2 separate regions of the Homo sapiens genome follow, and region 1 is linked to region 2. Evidence: promoter capture Hi-C in human tissues and cell types (Jung and others, 2019). All regions are on one chromosome and are shown on one strand. Each heading gives the region's core, a stretch centred on a gene start or on the middle of the fragment in contact. The rest is flanking DNA. Distances are from core to core; before and after follow the strand shown. Region 1 overlaps TPTEP2-CSNK1E (TPTEP2-CSNK1E readthrough). Region 2 holds the start of TMEM184B (transmembrane protein 184B).

Region 1 (2,700 bases), core at 160-2,659, 120 kb after region 2:
AGGTTGCAGTGAGCCAAGATCGCGCCACTGCATTCCAGCCTGGGCAACAGAGCGAGACTTTGACTCCCCCCTCTTGCCCAAAAAAAAAGAAATATGATGGAGTGTTATTTCCCACTCAGGGAAACAGCATAACTTAGTTACTGAAAATATTTATTAACAGACAGATGTTTTGGTTCCAATTCTCAATTATCTGGGTTAAAGAAGTTACCATCAGTCTCCACACAAGACCTTGTAGGATTATTTCTCTGCAGTGAAGGACAATGAAGGAGGTTCAGTGGGAAACGATCTTAGGACAGAGGAAGTTTCCACTTTGCCTGGGAGGGTGAACAGCCTGGGAGACCTGGAGATGAGGGCAGGCATTCTAGGCCAAGGGGTCTTCTTGTGTGGTCAGATGGGGAAGGAAACCCTCCTGGCAAAACAGCAGCAATTCTTTCTCCAGGAAAGCTTCTGAGACTGACTCTAATAGTCAATTGTGATCAACTGTCCTAGGCTCCCAGGGCCACAGCAATCCTTAGGCACCCCAAATGTGCCATCCCTGACTACCCAGCACACCCTAACCCCAAAGCATTGTGACAGCTCAAGGATGACTTCCTCTGAAAACCTCTGTCCAGATCTAAAACCATCCTGTTTGTTTGCTTGTAACTGTCTTTTTCTAAAAGTAACACCTCAGGATGGAGACTCTGTTGCCTTGTCCACTGCTGCCCCCAATGCCTGGAACAAGGTGCCTGACACAGGAGTAGGCACGCGACACATAGCTGGTGAATAAACGTCACGGAATTAGCACACGTGTAGAATCAGTACGCACATGTTTGGCCACAGTCACTAAACGTAACTGATCAGAAATTAAAATTAAGTTGCATGTTCATCAAAACTTCTACATGGCTATCAGTGACTGCCATCTAATTGCCATTCTGCAACTTCAAGAGTACAATTTCAAGAGCGTAATAAAAAAATCATATTTAATCACACCATAAAGTTCATCAGCACAAGCAAAACAAAAACTGCACTATTTGGATTTATACTCACTCTCCTTACGACCCTCCAAAACAAAAATGCTGGGCATCCTAGGGCTATCTCTGACAGCAAATGCCTTCAGCTCTTGACTTAGAAACTGCTAACATACTAGACAAAACACTTTCCTTAAACTCTAAGACAATGAATAATACTTTAAACCAGGTTTACATCGCTTAAAACCAATTCGCTCATCAGTAATCGTTAAAGTGGTTGTAACAATAAAGATGTTAATAACAGAATACAGCAAAATAGAAATTCTAATCTACTAACAGCAAATCACCATTCCAATTGAATGGTGTGTGTGCACAAACACAAGCCTTCCCAGAAGCCTCCAGCTCTCCACACTCCTGCACACAGAAGGCAGCAGTAAACCGATGGCACTGCTGTTAAAGTAAATTGTCTTTCTCAACAAAGAACTGGAGGGGAAAAGGAGGATATTATAATCCAAGACTATAATCTAAATGCTTCTAGCTTGCAAGAAAGTGAGCATTACGAACACGCTAAGCTTACTGACAAGTACTTCACAAAAATGGTTTCCAATGTTTAAAAACATTTTAAAATCTTTACTCAGGTAAACGACAGAACTTAACTCATATACCCCCTAACACCTAAGGCAAGTGGGCTATTGAGTATAGCCATATTTTGAAAGAAACTTCTATTGGGATTATTTCAGTAGATACTTTTAAAATTTACCAGAGCATAATCTTTGAAACCCAGTGGGAACCACACTGCTACAAAAGGCTGGAATAGAAGTGTGATGTTCTTTAGGTCACTAATTACACACTGATTTGTGACTAAAGCTACCATGAATTCTACCACTACCTATAGATCTTGAAATTAGCAAATAGGACACATTATACACTGCTTAATAAAAAGCACAGTAATCTGTGCTTAAGTACAACTAACTAGGTACAACAGCCACTTTGCTGACAATTACTGTAACTTGGGAATATTTTTCTTTACATCCTGATGTACTCAAACTGTTAACTTTTAGAAACAGCACAGCCTCTTTGTTTCTTCTGCTTAATAGGTTATCTTACACTGTTGATATGGAATATGTATCTACCATAATACAAAGCAATAAGGTATTCAAGTCCTCAAAAACACAGAAAAATTATATTTATACACAATTTGTCATACTGCTAACAAAGCTACTTTTTCCCAAGTTACTGAGGTGTCCAAATAAGGAGTTATTAAAAAATTCAACTTAAATTGCTATTCTCTGGCCAATGCATTTGTACCCTGAAAACTACAAAATTATCTCCAAGACCTGGCTAGAAGTTTACATTTTCTCTGAAAGTTTTTCCTCTGTCTTTTACACACAGTATTTTTTCTTAATCTGACAAGTGGAGAAAACTCTGCATAGCCATCTACTAACAATCAAAAAGCTACAGGTTTTTTTATTTTTTATTTTTAATGCTCTAAATTCTTCAACACTGTTTCAAGGAAATTACTAGGGGTCACACCCACGAGGCTAAATGGTCAACCCAACTTTCCTAATTTAGCTGTGGAAAGATGCTTCCAAGTTAAGCGAAAGAAAAAGATTGGAATATTCAAAGTTTATATTTAAGGTTACAACCTAAACTCTTCAACTTGGGAAGCTTGTAAAGGAAATAATTTCATTTTGCTGAAATTGTTCATAAATTACCAATTTTAAATAGGATTAGAGACCAAAGTACTATAAAA
Region 2 (2,700 bases), core at 100-2,599:
TTTCCAAATCTGATTCCCCCATGCTTGAGAGCTCCTTGATGGCTTGGGCATCAAATGTTTCTGTCCAGGTGGGCACACATACCTGGCTGCTGGGGCTCTCCCACCCCAGCGTCCCAGGTCCCAACTCTGATACGCACAGCACCCTAGGCAAGGTTCAGAGGTGCAGAGCCTAGGGGTTCTACCAAGGAAGCTAAATAGGTAGATGGAAAGGGACACTGTAGGCATAACCTGTCAACGAAGTCACACCTCTGAGACCTGCGCTGCCTCTGCAGGTGCAGGTGAGCTTGTTTGCCTGGCTGACTCTGCAGCGCAGGGCCTCCAGGGCACAGATTGCTGCTTCTTTCCTTACAAAAGCACCAGCAGTCAGATAAATAATACATGGCCTTCACCTCACCACAGGTATCAGGCATGCAAATACCTGCTTTGCCCCAAAATGCCCTGGAAAGGAGGGAGGAGTAAAACGTCTGGCCTTATACAACACCTCCAGAGGGGATATGTATTGGGAATCCATGCCCAACCCCCAGCATAACTGCCTTGCCTTGGCCTGGAGCCACCCAGCACTGGAGGTAAGTGGATCCAAGCGAGGTACCAAGGGTGTGCCCAGGAGGAAATGTACAATTCACGGGAAGGATACAGACACCCAAAACCAGTCTCCACGGTCCCTTTGGGGGCAAACATCTTTCGAGCCCCAGGTCCCAGTCGATCCCCTTCCAAACCTGCGGACCTGTGTGGCGGGCGTGTACACCCTCCACTCACGACGCAGCCCCGAAAGCCCCCCGCCGACCACCCTCCCAGGTCACTGCCACCCGCACAGGGCACGGACGCCTCCCCCACTCACTCGGCCGTGCCAGTCGCCAGCACACCCACCCGGGAGCACACAATCCCTCTTGCAAAGCGCCTTGGTCCATCCGCCTCCCTCTCCCGGGGCCGCCCCCCGGACAGGTCCGATTACACTCCAGGAGCTGCCCCCGCCACGTTGGCGTGGAAAGGGAGCGGGCACACCCACGGGCGACCTCGCGGGGCGGAGAGGAGGCACGGGTGGGGAGACGGATGCCCCCTCCCTCCGCGGCCGCACCGGCCTCCGTAGTGCCCTCCCCGCCCGGGAGCCGGCGGCCGAAGCCGGGCGTCCCTCGCGCGGGCCTCTCCGAAACAAGCAGCCCCCCGCGCTCGGGAGTCGCAGCTCCCCCTTGGGGCTCCCGGGCGAGGCCGGCCAGGCGGGATACCTCAGGAGCCCATGGCGGTGGCGGCGTCTGCGGACGATGCGCGGCAGCCGGACTCTGCGGGCGGGGCGGGCGGCGCCGCAGCCCCGGAGTCTCCGCCGCCGCCGGCGCGTCCCGGGCCCAGTGGAGTGCAGCCGCGGCGCGCATGCGCTCTGGGCTCGCCGCCGGGGAGGGCGGGGCGGCGGACGCGGCTGAGATCACTGCCTGGGCCTTAAAGGGGCCGCGCCCCGAACCCCAGCCCGCCGCCCCGAACCCCAGCCCGCCGCCCCGCGGGTTGGGGCGCGACCCGGGTTCTCTTGCCACTCACAAAACCAGCTACGACCGGCCCCCAACCGCGAGAGCTTTCTGGGCTGCGATCTCTGCCCCTGACCCTCGCTGGTGCTTCACTTCTTTTAACCCTAATTTCCTCCATTTGAGCCTGTTTTGAAGATGAAACGAAATACAATGGCTATTTGTTGAGTGAAGGATGCGTGTGGAATTGTGGAATGAACGTGGACCGAGTGTTGTGTGCAATTAGGCCAGATGAAATGGCAAAGCACTGAAAGAGGCCTTTTTTTCCCACTCCGCTTAGCAGCGATTCTTTCTTGCCCCGTCTGGCTCTAGGCTGCCGAACTAGCAAAAGTCTTCAGATAGGGTTCAAGCCGCCTAGTCCATTTCTGTTTGCCGGTCCAGACATCACCTAGGTTAACTGAACAAGATAAAATGCAATTAAGTTCTGGCATTGATGTGCTCAAGATCCCCAAATGTATTTATGTCTCCAGACTCCTCGCCTGAACTGTCTACCCAACACCTCTTCCTTGGAGCTCCAGCAGGCATCTCAAAGTCAGCGTGTCTGAGCTGAGCCAACCCCACTTCCACACACAAAAACCTGCTCCCTCTCAGCTTTGCCTCCATCAGCTGTTGACAATTCCATCCTTCCAGTCCCCAGGCCAGAACTCGGAGTCAGCTGTGAATGAATGCCCCCCTTCTGCCCGCTACCCAATAAGGCAGGCAGGAGATCCTGTTGGCTCTACCTGCAAAATAGATCTAGACTCAGATGTCTGCCACTCCTCCTCCAGTGCTACCACCCTGGTCCAGTATTTGCACAGGATTATTGCAGAGTTCTGCTAACCCCTCTCCCTTGTTCCAGCCTTGCCCTCTGATCCATTCTATCAATTCAGGGGTGAGGGAGATCCTTTTTTTTTTTTCTCTTTTTTCTTTTTGAGACAAAGTCTCGCTCTTTGTCTCAAAGTTGCCCAGGCTGGAGTGCAGTGGCGCGATCTCGGCTCACTGCAAGCTCCGCCTCCCGGGTTCACGCCATTCTCCTGCCTCAGCCTCCCGAGTAGCTGGGACTACAGGCGCCCGCCACCATGCCCAGCTAATTTTTTGTATTTTTAGTAGAGACGGGGTTTCACCGCGTTAGCCAGGATGGTCTTGATCTCCTGACCTTGTGATCCGCCTGCCTCGGCCTCCCAAAGTGCTGGGATTACAGGCGTGAGCC

The links. Contacts are between HindIII fragments. The study calls those that stand out against the background at their distance.
Region 1: a contact is called between a fragment that was not itself captured here and the fragment with the promoter of TMEM184B in region 2, in 2 of the 25 tissues and cell types used here (dorsolateral prefrontal cortex and stomach).

What each region holds. Positions count from the first base shown.
Region 1 is chr22:38,389,846-38,392,545 of GRCh38, forward strand. All of the region lies in intron 1 of TPTEP2-CSNK1E (TPTEP2-CSNK1E readthrough), which reads right to left. It also overlaps the pseudogene TPTEP2. Among named protein-coding and RNA genes, the nearest start is that of TPTEP2-CSNK1E, 7.7 kb to the right of the region's middle. The HindIII fragment of the contact is 3,040 bases long and covers 1-2,700 here.
Region 2 is chr22:38,271,661-38,274,360 of GRCh38, forward strand. TMEM184B (transmembrane protein 184B) reads right to left here and starts at 1,350. Exons shown (of 9, transcript NM_012264.5): 1 at 1,224-1,350. RefSeq lists an enhancer at 101-810 and a silencer at 873-1,502. The HindIII fragment of the contact is 18,337 bases long and covers 1-2,700 here.